Linked DNA regions of Homo sapiens: region 2 is linked to region 1. The links are contacts of gene promoters, found by promoter capture Hi-C in human tissues and cell types (Jung and others, 2019). All regions are on one chromosome and are shown on one strand. Each heading gives the region's core, a stretch centred on a gene start or on the middle of the fragment in contact. The rest is flanking DNA. Distances are from core to core; before and after follow the strand shown.

The links. The method cuts DNA at HindIII sites, captures the fragments that hold promoters and counts their contacts. A contact is called where the count stands out against the background at its distance.
Region 2: a fragment that was not itself captured here is called in contact with the fragment with the promoter of RPS15 in region 1 in 2 of the 25 tissues and cell types used here (dorsolateral prefrontal cortex and small bowel).

Annotation. Positions count from the first base shown.
Region 1 is chr19:1,432,943-1,439,645 of GRCh38, reverse strand. RPS15 (ribosomal protein S15) reads right to left here and starts at 1,250. Exons shown (of 4, transcript NM_001018.5): 1 at 1,218-1,250; 2 at 754-839. The coding sequence starts at 1,220. It overlaps DAZAP1 (DAZ associated protein 1), which reads right to left. Exons shown (of 12, transcript NM_018959.4): 12 at 3,962-4,909. The coding sequence ends at 4,734. RefSeq lists enhancers at 1,007-1,226, 635-1,505, 4,882-5,385. The HindIII fragment of the contact is 20,902 bases long and covers 1-6,703 here.
Region 2 is chr19:1,318,142-1,325,075 of GRCh38, reverse strand. No RefSeq gene overlaps it. Among named protein-coding and RNA genes, the nearest start is that of PWWP3A, 33 kb to the left of the region's middle. RefSeq lists enhancers at 1-60, 61-574. The HindIII fragment of the contact is 8,009 bases long and covers 934-6,934 here.

The DNA.
Region 1 (6,703 bases), core at 1-2,500:
AGGCGGGAGGGTCGCTTGAGCCCAGGAGTTCAAGACCAACCTGGACGACACAGAGAAACGCTGTTTCCACAAATAATCAAAAATCAAGGTCGGGCGCGGTGTTCACGCCTGTAATCCCAGCACTTTGGGAGGCCGAGGCAGGTGGATCACCTGAGGTCAGGAGTTTGAGACCAGCCTGGGCAACACTGAAACTCGTCTCTACTAAAAATACAAAAATTAGCCGGACGTGGTGGGGGGGCCCTCTAATCCCAGCTACTCGAGAGGCTGAGGCAAGAGAATCGCTTGAACCCGGGAGTGGGAGGCTGCAGTGAGCTGGGACGGAGCCATTGCACTCCAGCCTGGGCGACAGGATGAGACTCCGCCTCAAAATAATCAAAAATTAAAAAATAAAAGCGCAAGCCAGATGCCCACCACCACCCTGCCTGGAAAGGACCCAGCGACCTCCACCGCCCTTAAAATCTAAGGAGTCTAACGCAGCCCCTTATTCTAAGTCACGTGGGCTACAGACAGGGGCTACACCTTCCAACTAAGCCGCGGAAAAGTGAACAACGGGGGGCAGGTTGCAAATAAGCAAAAACCTCAACGTCTCTGGACAGTTTTCTGGGCGCAAGACCACACTCAGTTCCAAACCCGCGCGGAGACCGTGCCCGCCCACCGCCGCAGAGGCGCTTGGACCCCCGCCCCGCCGCCCTCACCCGGACAAGCCCCACCGCTGGCCCAGCCCCTGCCCGCGACCCCCGCGGCCGCCCTTACTAGGACATGTCCAGCAGCTGGTCGAGGTCCACGCCGCGGTAGGTGAACTTGCGGAAGGTCCGCTTCTTCTTCTGCTCTACTTCTGCCTGTGCGGGCGCGGATCGGGCGTCAGCGGGATCCCGACACCCATCTCCCGGGGCCACCGGGCCCGAGGACACCGCGGAAGACGCGCGGCGCCGCCGGGGACAGAAGCCCGACAGGGACACACCGCTTCGACCCGTCCCCGGGGATCACTCGCGGCTCCGGGTTACGAGGACCCGGACATGAAGGCCCGGACAGGCCTTCCCAGCCCCGCGTCGTCCCGACACCCACCAAGTCCGCCCCTCGCCCCAACATCCAGCCGCCTGCAGGGTCGGGAGCAAGCCGCCGTAGCCGCGGGGACGAACTGCGGCCCCCGCGAGACGGTCAGAGGTTGGATGGAGCCGGATAGGCCCGGCAGAGACGCGCCAAATCGCAACACTCACCATCTTGCCGGATCCTCAGAAGAGATCGCTTTGGTCCGCGCCTGCGCAGTTATCGCGAGACTGCCGGCATGTCCCGCCCCCTCGGCCGTGCGCGCACACGCGCTTCCGCTTTCCCGGCGGCGAACACGCGCCCTCTGCCGTCTGGAGGGCAAAACACAGGCTGCAGGGATTAGAGCAGCCGCCGCCTGAGGTCTGCAGAGCCGCTTCCTCCACGGAGTGGGACTTTGGACAAGTCGCCGCCCCTGTCTGAGCCTCGGGTTCGTGCTCCGTCATCTACACGATGGCACCCACATCAACAAGTATTTATGGAGCGCCTACCGTTTGCTCGTAGGTGCGGTTTGGCGGTTCAGGTCCCACTGTGGGAGGAACACGAGAATTCATTACAGATACTGGAGCAGGGACAGGGCCTCGCTGAAAAGAACCATTCCGGCTTTAACAGATAAAATTTTGTATATAAAGTTAGTAAGGACAACACAGTGAGACTGCCTCTCTACAAAAAAATACAAAAATTTGTGTACACACGGACATAAAAGAATAAAAAGTACAAAAAATTCCCAGCTACTCGGGAGGCTGAGCCTTCAGCCCAGGAGGTCAAGGCTGCAGTGAGCCGTGATCGCGCCAACGGCACTCCAGCCTGGGCGACAGAGCAAGACCCTGCCTCAAAAATAAAGTTAGGAATATCACTGGGTTTGTTAAGATATGTAAATGTAATGTGAATAATGATAGCTCAAAGAGAAGGAGTAACTAGAACTATGTAGGAGTGACTTTTTTTTTTTTTTGAGACAGAGTTTCACTCTTGTTGCCCTGGCTGGAGTGCAGTGGTGTGATCTCGGCTCACTGCAACCTCTGCCTCCTGGGTTCAAGCGATTCTCCTGCCTCAGCCTCCCAAGTAGCTGGGATTACAGGCACCTGTTACCGTGCCCGGCTAATTTTGTATTTTTAGTAAAGACACGGTTTCTCCATGTTGGCCAGGCCATGTTGGTCTCGAACTCCTGACCTCAGGTGATCCACCCGCTTTGGCCTCCCAAAGTGCTGGGATTACAGGCGTGAGCCACCGCGCCTGGCCTAGGAGTGATGTTTCTGTATCTTACTGGAATTAAGTATAAAGTTGAAGGTGACTATTAACTATGGATGTGGCACCTGGCTGGGCGTGGTGGCTTATGCTTGTAATTCCAGCACTTTGGGAGGCCGAGGCGGGCGGATCACCTGAGGTCAAGAGTTCAAGACCAAGCTGACCAACCCTAACTCTACTAAAAATACAAAAAATTAGCCAGGCGTGGTGGTGGGTGCCTGTAATCCCAGCTCCTTGGGAGGCTGAGGCAGGAGAACCGCTTGAACCCGGGAGGCGGAGGTTGCAGTGAGCTGAGATCGCACCACTGCACTCCAGCCTGGGCGACAGAGACTCCTTCTCAAAAAAAAAAAAAAAAAAAAAAAAGAAAAAGAAAAAAAAAAAGCACAAAACCTCTGGGAACCCGAGCTTAGCTGTGGCACTGTCCAGGGAGCTGAGCTCTCCCCAGCCGTCCCCACAGTCCCAAGGGAAGCCAATTACACTGTACTCAGGGAGGGCTGAGTCTCCGTCCCGAGGAGCACAGGACCTATGTGTCGGGCCCGTCCATGTTACCCATTTTCCTGCAGCAGAGTGTCCTGGCTGGAAAGCTGATTTTGTGAGTGCTGCTCTTTGGCTGGGGGAGCTAATGTAACGGGAGGGGCTGACACTCAACACCATGATGACCTGTGGTGTGGATAGACAGCCGCCCCCGCCTGGCCCTCCTGGGAGCTGGGGCAGCAGCTCCTGAGGACATGGGAGAAGGCTCTGACGGCAGGGAATGGAGCTGGCTTCCTGGGCTGAGGCGTTGAGGGGTACTGTCTCAGTGAGGAAACTGCACTGCACAGGGATGTTGGGGGTACCCCTTCTCTTGGTTCTCTCCAAACTAAGTCAAACCTTCCCTGTCCCCAAAATATGAACTGGGGCGGGGGGGGGTGGTTCTGGCTGTCGCCTGAACAGTCTCACGCCTGGCACGCTGTAGGCTTCCAGTTTGGGACTTCATGGTCCTTTTTTTTTCTTGTTTTGTTTTTTGAGACGGAGTTTCGCTCTTGTTGCCCAGGCTGGAGTGCAATGGCGCAATCTCGGCTCACTGCAAGCTCCGCCTCCCAGGTTCAAGCGATTCTTCTGCCTCAGCCTCCCAAGTAGCTGGGATTACAGGCATGCACCACCACACCCGGTTAATTTTTGTATTTTTAGTAGAGACGGGGTTTCTCCATGTTGGTCAGGCTGGTCTCGAACTCCCGACCTCAGGTGATCCGCCCGCCTCGGCCTCCCAAAGTGCTGGGATTACAGTCGTGAGCCACCGCGCCCGGCCCTTTTTAAGTCTCGCCTTCCCTGCCACAGTGACAGAGTATCCCTTTCCAAAGATGCCCCTGTCCTAATCCCCAGAACCTGGGGATATGTCACCTTCCATGGCAAAAGATATGATTAAAGGTCTTGAGATGGGAAAAGCCTGGAGCCCACATTCCCCGAGAAAACTGGTGGTGGCCACATCCTCAAAGTCACAGCATCCCAAGACCCACTGAGGGATGGGCCCAGCTCGCCACTCAGCCTCTGCCCTGAAGCCCTCGGGGTTGCTGAGACCACCAAGAGCCAAGGGGAGGGCGAGGGCGCCTCCGTCGCGTTTCAGACCTTTCCTAGGCACTGGAAGGGTAGGCACAGGCCAAGACCAAGGAGGGAAAAAACGGACACAAAGTGGTTTCTAATCCAAACGCACTTCTCTTTATTCAAACCAGGGTCAAACTGGTCAATGGGAAACGCCCTGAAGCCACGTGCCTGGGGAGAAAGGCTTCCTACTCGGTTCGGTTCAGCGCTGCGTGGGATCCACGCGGCTGGCTGTGCGCAACCCCCACAGTTCACCTCAGACACTACCAAGCAGGTCAGTCGACAAAAGCAAGGAATTAAACAAAAAACAGAAATACACTCAGTAGATTTCTTCTAGAAGCTCCCAGAGTTTCTGGACCACCAAGTCCCAACCCCCAAAGCCAGGAGCGAGGGGACTAACAGCGCACCCCCTCCACCAGTGCCGACGGAAACCCCGTTTTAAATTAAAAAATAAGCCAGTATACATCGTAGAAAATTTCTCTTAAAAATCTCACAATTTGTAAATGTATATTTTTTCTTTAACATAAAAGTTTACAATATACCGTAAAACAAAAGGCTCAGGAAAATAATTTCCAAAAAAAAGGAAGAAAAAGAAACCTGAAGTTTTGAATTAAAGCTGAAGACATTTTTTTTAAACCCTGTTGTTGAACCAGTGACTTTTTTTTATTGTGCTGATGGGTTAGAGAAAGAAATATTTAAAAACCTCAGTCCAGACGACACCCACAGCCGCTCCAAAAGCCTCGCGCCCTCCCCCCGCCCCCCCCCCCAAGGTTGAGTCGCCACTTTGCCGCCAAGTTTGTGATTGTCACGAGTTCACAAGTTTGGAATCCTGGGTCTGGGCCGTGCAGACGTCGCGGCGCCGCGGGCTAGCGTCGGTAGGGGTGGAACCCTTGCACGTTGTGGTTCTGCCCTCGTCCAAAGCCGCTGCCGCCGGCGGGGGGGCCCCCCGACCCTGGCACGGAGGGACCCCCGTAGGAAGGAGGCTGCTGGCTGGGGTCTGAGAAGCCCTGTCCGAAGCCACTCAAGTCCTGCCCGTAACCTGCTGGGGGAGAAAGTCCTGTGAGCTCGGGGCGGTCCCTGGGCGGTTGGCACTGCCGTCGAGCGAGGCCACCTGGACACAGCTCCGCCGAGCCTGCCTTGAGTCCACGGGTCCCACGGGGTGCGGGTGGGGCCCTTCTGAGGCCAGCACCTGGGCCGGGGAGAGGACCCCGGGCATGTTCTCTCCCTCAAAAACATGTGAGCAGGGGCACACACAGAGAAAAGCGGCTTCCAGAGCCCTCCATGGCCCACGTAACCTCACCGCTTCCCTGTTCAATCCCGAAGACGTGGTTGGGGGGGTGAGGGGAGGTAGAGAAGCCTCGGGGCTTGGAGACACACATGGCCCAAGGCACGGTGGACCAGGCTTCTAGAAAGCTGGCTCTCGGAGTTTCAGAAAACCCCTGACGGGCCCTTGCAGCGATACAGGGCCTGCCCCTCCGTCGCAGACCAGACCCCACGTTGTCCTTCCTGTCAGGGCACGTCCATCGGTGGCACGTGTCAGGGAAGGGTTTCTGGGCCCAACCTGACTGCCCCAGTGACACCACTGGCTGAGGGGCCAGCACACCCTGCAGCCCGTCCGGCCCACACAGCCGACCTCAGGAGCATGGACAGCGGTGTCTTTACAAGGACAGAGCTGCTCACGCCGCTCCCCACCCCGCTGCACACCTTGCAGGAAGCCCCTCCCACGACCTCTGGGTTCCCATTCGGGTGCACGTGGGCACAGGTGGGCGTGGGCTCTCTCTGGGGGATCCTGGGCCCGCTGAAGGCTTGTGGCCAATGTCTTGGCACCGGCAAGGGCCCCTTCCCAGAGGGCACCGCCAGCGTCCACCCCCGCCCGGGACGGCAGAGGAAGCCACGTCCACCTCCCGGTGCAGGCGGGTGGGAGGACCCTGGAGAAGGAGGCGGCACCTACCTAGGCCACATCACTGCTCAGCCTGACCATAAGACTGTAAACAAAGTGTGGGCCGCAGCCCGGCGGGGCTGGAGAATAGGAACCCAGGCCTGGCAAGAGACGAGACCAGGGTGACCAACCCAAGCAGCCGCCACCAAGAGCAGCGGCTGACACACGCCACGCCCCAACCGGGCGCCTCACACCCCCCTGCCAGTCTCAGACACGCCAGGGTTTGGTGGTGAGTGGGTCAAGAACCCACACATGCGGCAACCTCGGCCCAAGGCCTGGGCGTGGGGGCAGGGGAACCACAGCCATGCGAGGTGGGTGGGCGGGCACCTCGGCCGAACACAGCTCCCACACCCCGGCCTCCACCAGGCCTAGAGGAAGCGTGTTCACAGGCACCCCGGAAGCCCGTGGCCACCTGCAGACAGGTGCCCCATGTTCTCAAACCCTGCTTGTGAATGACCCCTGGTGCTGGAGGAGCTGACCGTAGTTGGAGCCCTGCCCACTGAGGCCACCGCGTTGGTCCTGAGCAAGGCTGCTGTGACTCCTGGCTCAGTGCAGGGCGAGAACTACTGACATGCAGACCTTGACCCATGCTGACCCCGCCCCCCCACAAGCTCCTGCCCCGGAAGCACATGCGCTGCCTGCAGATCACGTCCAGGCAGACCCAAGCCACGACAGCCATCCAGTCCAGGGTGAAGCCCACGTCCAGGCCACGCCTACTACAGACCCAGCTTCTGCCCCAAGCGGGGTCTGGACCCAGCAGGAGGCTGATGACGCCAGAAACTGGAACCCACCAAGGGGCCAGTGCACCCGGGACCCACACCGAGGGCCTGAACCTCTAGACAGTGATCACAGCTGCCTGCGACTCACTTCCCTCGACCCAGTCGCCACTCAGGTTCC
Region 2 (6,934 bases), core at 3,689-6,188, 120 kb after region 1:
CAGCGTAGGTCTTCGGGGCTGCGGACTCCCGGCCCCCGGGACCCCCCTGTCCCGCTGTGGAAACTGGCACGGGGACCGGAGGGCGGATCCCCCGGGCACTTGCCGAGGCCACTGACCCAGGTCTGGATGTTCCCCGAGGCCCAAGGTCACCACTGGGCCCCCCCGGGGACTGACGAGAGGCCTCTGGCGGGAAAAGGGGCTGGCTCAGGCAGGCAGCAGGCCCCAGAACCCCCCGCACACGCGGGCACAGGAAGCCCCAGCAATGCCCCTCCCTCCAATTTCTCAACCCGTGATGGGAAAAGAAGAGAAAAGGAAGAAAGATTTCCTCCAAAGCTTCACTGTGGCAGAATTCCGCTCTGAGGTCCTTACCCGCCTCCAGGCAGCCCTCCCTGCTCGCCGCTCACCACGGGCACAGGGCACAAATTGTGTCCTTCTTCTGCTCTAAACTCTGCTGTGGCTCCCCAGTGCCCTCAGGAGAAAAACCAAACTCCTCCCTGCGGCCCATGAAGCCCTCAGCAGGCTTGGCATCCCCTGCTCCAGCCACACCAGCTGCCCGAAGGACACACCAGGCTCCAGGTGGCCCCCAGCCCTTTGCATTGGCTGCTCCATGAGAAACCTGGCTCCTTCTCGCCCTTCTGAACTCAGCTCAAAGGACCCCTCCTCCAGGAAGCCCTCCTGCCTGCCCCCTTAGACATTTCCAAGACAGAGAGAGACAGAGAGACGGGGAGATAACCAGCTCTTTCAAGCTCACGTCCTGTAGGCTCCCCGAGGGTAGGCACCAGCTCTTTCTTTTTTTCTATTTTATTTTTATGCTATTTTCAGACACTCATGGACATGGACTTGGTGCCAGACACCCCTCCAAGTGGTTTACAGAGATGAAGTTTTTGGTGCCATAAACACCGGTTATGCGACATCCTGAGGTGGGGACTGAGGTAGTTCCCTTTCACCAGTGCCCAATCAATGCATGTGTATTTTATATGGATGCCAGTCACGCTGCGCCAGGCCCACTCGAACGACCTCGTCATAACTCGGTCACATCTGCCAAGGCCCTATTTTTTTTTTTTTTTTTTTGAGACGGAGTGTCGCTGTGTCGCCCAGGTTGGAGTGCGGTGGCGCGATCTCGGCTCACTGCAAGCGCCGCCTTCCGGGTTCACACCATTCTCCTGCCTCAGCCTCCCGAGTAGCTGGGACTACAGGCGCCTGCCGCCACCACGCCCGGCTAATTTTGTTTTTGTATTTTTCATAGAGACGGGGTTTCACCGTGTTAGCCAGGATGGTCTCGATCTTCTGACCTTGTGATCCGCCTGCCTCGGCCTCCCAAAGTGCTGGGATTACAGGCGTGAGCCACCGCGCCCGGCCGCAAAGGCCCTATTTCTAAATAAAGTCCCATTCACAAGTTTCAGGGGCCAGGATGTGAACAGATCTTCCAGGAGACACCAAGCAGCCTCAGTGTCCATTGATGGATCCGGGCCCTCCCTTCAAGCCTTTTCCCATCCCCCCTCCACCTCCTGCACCGAGACCCCAGCATGAAGCTTCCTCGGGCCTCACCGACCTCTGCTAAGTCCAGGAGACGCTGTGAGCACCCGAGGGTAGGGCCTGAGGCTCCCTGCCCCCACCTGGGCTGGCACCTGGGAGAGGAGGGTTCCCCTCAGCAGTTAGCTGTGGGCTGGCTGTGCGCCCCTTGCCAAGCTCCTGGGACACGGGCTGAGCAGAGCCCAGGGTGCCCCAGCCCCTTCCCGAGTCCCTGCTGGGCCCGTGTCGCCCACTGATGGGGAGATGCCCAAGTTCTGTGACCCCGGGGGCAGGATGGTGAGGCGGCCCCTGGGGACCCAGAGTCCTGCCCTGCCAGGGCCTCCTGCACCCTCAACCCCAAACCCAGAAAAGTCAGGCGGAGCCCAAGGCCAGAGCAGGCCAGTCACAGCTGGGAGGCGGGGGGCCCAGGGGCCAGGAAGGCCGGGATGGAGCCCTCGGCCCATCGCCCTGCACAGCCGCCCCTGCGCTGCCTCTGTCTCCCCATGTCTCTCTGTCTCTCTCCGACTTGCTGTATCTCTGTATCCCTCTGTCTCTCTGTGTCTCTTTCTCTGTCTCTGTCCGACTCGATCTATCTCTGTCTCCCTCTGTCTCTCTGTCTCTTTCTCTGTCTCCTTCCCTCTCTGTCTCTGTTTATCTCTATTTCTGTCTCTCCCTCTCTCTGTTTCCCTCTGTCTCTGTCTTTGTCTCTCTGTTTTTGTCTGTCTCCCCCATCTCTGTCTCTCTGTCTCCCTCTGTCTCTGTCTCTCTGTCTCTGTCTCCTTCTGTCTCTGTCACTGTCTCTCCGTCTCTTCCTCCCTCCATCTCTGACTCTGTCTGCCTGCGTCTGTCTCTCTCTGTCTCCCTTTGTCTCTCTGTCTCTGACTGTCTCTGTCTCTCTGTCTCTGTCCCTCTGATGTCTGACCCAGGTGGGCAGTACCTGTGGTGGTTCTGCTGTCCCTGAAGGAATGACATGTTCTCGCTCTGCCTGAGAGACCTCCTTTGCCTCCTCTGGAGGGTCTGAGAAGACAGGAGGGCGCTGGGCCCACCACAGGGGCAGATGACCTACGCATCACCCTGCCCACCCCAGGGCATAGCTGCCACCAAAGGGCTGGGGGCTGCCAGCCGCGGTGCTCTGGCAGGGACAGGTCTTCCCCTGGCGCCCCCAGGGAAGAACAGGCAACCCATCCACCTGCCTCCTGCCACTTGCCTCCCACCCCTTCCAGCCAGCGGGTGAGGGGGCTTCCCGTGCCACTGGGCGGGCTGCAGGCATCCTTGGGTGCCACCCAAGCTCAGCCAGATTCCAGGAACCCCCTCCCGCCCCCTTCACCCCTCCTTTCCCCGGGATTTCTCGTAGCGGGGACAGGGCCACACGTCACTCCACACAGACCACCCCTCCCGATGCTGGAGCCCACAGCGGGAAAGTCGCCTCCCCACGGGTCTGAACGGAAAACTGGGGAGCCCTGGACACAGATTCACCCTCTCCTCACGCCCAATCTGCCCTCCAACGCCAGTGGTATGGGGGTGAGACGGCCGTCTGCAGGACCATGCGAACAGGGACAGGGACAGGGACCACCTGCGGAAAGCCTCCCTCACATGGGCGAGCCCCCGTGTGCAGCTGCCATGCTGCCTGACAATAGCTGCCACCACAGAGTCCCCATCACCGCCGCCTTTGCCGACGGAGAAACAGAGTCACAGGGTGGCAGGGTCACCTCCAGAAGTGGCAGGGCCAGCTGGGAGACACAGGGTCATGCCTGGAAGCTGTTTCCATGTGTCATGCTCCAAACACCAGGCCCTGCTGGGGAACACGCCCTCTGCTTCTGGCCTTGGTGGGACCTGCCCAGCCTCTGCTTGGCCTTCTGTGAGGGTCAAAGGCCCAAATCCAGGGCCACTGGAAGAGTTGGCAAGAACAGCATTCCCTACACACTCAGAAACGTCTGAAACAGCCCAAATGTCCATCAACACAAGAATGGGCAAACACGGCATGGCCCTCTGCCCACTGGAACACGACTGAGCCGTGAAAAGGAGCGAGGCTCTGACCCAGGCCACAGCGCAGATGCATCCTGAGGACGCCACACTCAGTGAGAGACGCCAGACACAGAAGGCCACAGGTGTGCAATCCCATTTCTATGAAATGTCCAGGGCAGGCAGATCCACAGAGACAGGGAGGGGAAGTGTGGGTGCCAGGGCTGGGGAGGGAACGGGGTTTCCTTTTGGAATGATGGAAATGTTCTAAAGTTGATTGGGTTGATGGACACACAGCTTTATGAAGACAATAAAAGAAATCAAGGCAGGGCACGGTGGCTCACACCTATAATCCCAGCACTTTGGGAGGCCGACCGAGGTGGGTGGATCACGAGGTCAGGAGATTGAGACCATCCTGGCTAACACCGTGAAACCCTGTCTCTAATTAAAAAAAAAAAAAAAAAAAATAGCCAGGCGTGGTGGAAGGCGCCTGTAGTCCCAGCTACTCAGGAGACTGAGGCAGGAGAATGGTGTGAACCCAGGAGACGGAGCTTGCAGTGAGCCGAGATCCTGCCACTGCACTCCAGCCTGGGCGACAGAGCGAGACTCTGTCTCAAAAAAAAAAAAAGAAAGAAAGAAATTGTATACTTTAGGCTGGGCGTGGTGGCTCTTGCCTGTAATCCTAGCACTTTGGGAGGCCGAGGCGGGTGGATCACCTGAGGTCAGGAATTTGAGACCAGCCTGGCTAACATGGTGAAACCCCATCTCTACTAAAAATACAAAGAAAAAAAAATTGTATACTTTAAATGAATGAACTGTATGCTATGTGAATAACTCAATAAAGCTGTTTTAGAAATTGCCTTCTTGGGCCGGGCGCAGTGGCTCACACCTGTAATCCCAGCACTTTGGGAGGCTGAGGCGGGCAGATCACCTGAGGTCAGGAATTTGAGACCAGCCTGGCCAACATGATGAAACCCTGTCTCTACCAAAAATACAAAAATTAGCTGGGCATGGTGGCAGGCACCTGTAATCCCAGCTACTGTGGAGGCTGAGGCAGGAGCGGTGGCTCACGCCTGTAATCCCAACATTTTGGGAGGCTGAGGTGGGAGGATCCCTTAAGCCCAGGAGTTCGAGACCAGTCTGGGCAATGTAGTGAGACCCTATCTCTACAAAAAAATGAAAAAATGAGATGGGAGGATCACTTGAGCCCAGGAGGTGGAGGCTGCAATGAGGTGATACAGAACCACTGAACTCCAGCTTGGGCAATGGGAGTGAGACCATGTCTCAAAAAAAAAAAATTGCCTTCCCTTCTGTCCCTTGTCACTTTTCCTTAGTGACATTGAAAGGTGTCATCTTCACCTTCCTCTGGAGCCACACGCAAAGAAGCCTTGTCTAGGAGTCTTGCTAAGTGGTAAGCCTGCCGTCTCTGGAGGTGTGTTAGTAGAGAAGACCGAGCCTTGGGTGGGGCTGTCTGCCCTGAGTGATGAATGGCCTCTGACTCTCAGGCCCAGCATCCAAAACCCCAAACTCAGCTGGGCGCAGTGGCTCGAGCCTGTAATCCCAGCACTTTGGGAGGCCAAGGTGGGTGGATCACTTGAGGTCAGGAGTTCGAGACCAGCCTGGCCAACATGGCAAAACCCCGTCTCTACTAAAATACAAAAAAAAAAAATTAGCTGGGTATGGTGACAGGTGCCTGTAATCCCAGCTACTCTACTTGGGAGGCTGAGGCAGGAGAATCGCTTGAACCTGGGAGGCAGAGGTGGCAGTGAGCAGGGATTGCGCCACTACATTCCAGCCTGGGTGACAGAGACTCCATCTCAAAAAAAAAACAAACAGGCCGGGCACGGTGGCTCATGCCTGTAATCCCGGCGCTTTGGGAGGCCGAGGCAGGCGGATCATCTGAGGTCGGGAGTTCGAGACCAGCCTGACTAACATGGAGAAACCCCATCTCTACTAAAAACACAAAATTAGCCGGGCATGGTGGCGCATGCCTATAATCCCAGCTACTCAGGAAGGCTGAGGCAGGAGAATAGCTTGAACCTGGGAGGCGGAGGTTGCAGTGAGCCGAGATCGCGCCACTGCACTCCAGCCTGGGCAACAAGAGCAAAACTCTTGTCTCAAAAAAAAAAAAAAAAAAAAAAAAAAAAAAAAAAAAACCCAAACTCCTGGCTGCTGGAATGATCCCCAACCCTCCTGGCTGAGCCGAGGCCCCGCGTGGGCGCCGTGCAGACAGCGTCCCAGTGGCCGGCCGGGCCAGAGCGCTGCATACACACACACGTGTGTTCACATGCACATGTACAACTGCTGGGGGATTTTCCCCCCTTCTTTTCTTTAAGAGGCCTGTCAGGGTCAAGGGGCGTCCTGCCACTGTATATTTCACGGTGCTTTCATCACGGCCGGCCGGCGGGGGGAGCCGCCCGGCCGGGCTCACAAAGGGCCCTCTAAGCCCTCCGCGTCCGCATTCTGTACGTGGGAGCCTGCCTCATTTCCTATTAACTTCAAAAGTCTCAATCCTATTACGGCGGGGGGCGGAGAAACAGCGGAATGGAAGAGGAGGCCTTTATTCCCCGGCCCGAACTGGGCAGAGGCCCCAGGGATCCTCATTAGGCAGGCAGTGTTCCCGAGGGTCTCAGGGGGTCTCTGACAGCGGCCCTCCCCACCCCACCAAGAGCCCGGAAACAGCGGTGGGGGCCCTGAGCCGCCCACAGTGGCCCTTCCCTCCCCGGCAGGAATGGCAGGTGGGAGGCGGGTCCGGCGGGCGCAGGTGCACGCTGCCAGGAGCTTCACTCACCGGAGCCTCTGGGCAGCGAGACCCGGGGCCTGACGTGGGTGTTAGCCCAAGGCCCCAGCCTTGGTTTCCTGCCCTGGAAAATCGGGGCGACCCCACTTCCCACTCTCCCAGCTCTCCCAGGCTCTTATCTGGGTAGAAGGAAGCACCTCCCACTCCTCGCTGAGCTGGGACCCTCTGGCCTCTTTGGGTTCTTCTGGTCTCGCCCCGTGCCCAGCAAAGTGTGCCGCCAGGCCGGGGAGTGTGCGTTAATCCTGGGGCACATGGAGCCACCGCAGGACTGAGGCAGAGGAGGGTCGCTGTCTGAGTTTCAGTTTTCTTTTTTTTTTTTGAGACAGAGTCTTGCTCTGTTGCCCATGCTGGACAGCAGCAGCACAATCTTGGCTCACTGAAACCTCTGCCTCCCAGGTTCAAGCAATTCTCCCTGCCTCAGCCTCCTGAGTAGCTGGGATTACAGACGCCCACCACCACGCCCGGCTAATTTATTTGTATTTTTAGTAGAGACGGGGTTTCACCATGTTGGCCAGGCTGGTCTTGAACTCCTGACCTCAGGTGACCCACCCACCTCGGCCTCCCAAAGTGCTGGGAGTACAGGCATGTGAGCCACCACACCCAGTCTGTGATCTCATTTCTATGAAGTGTCCAGGACAGGCCAACCCACAGAGGCAGAGA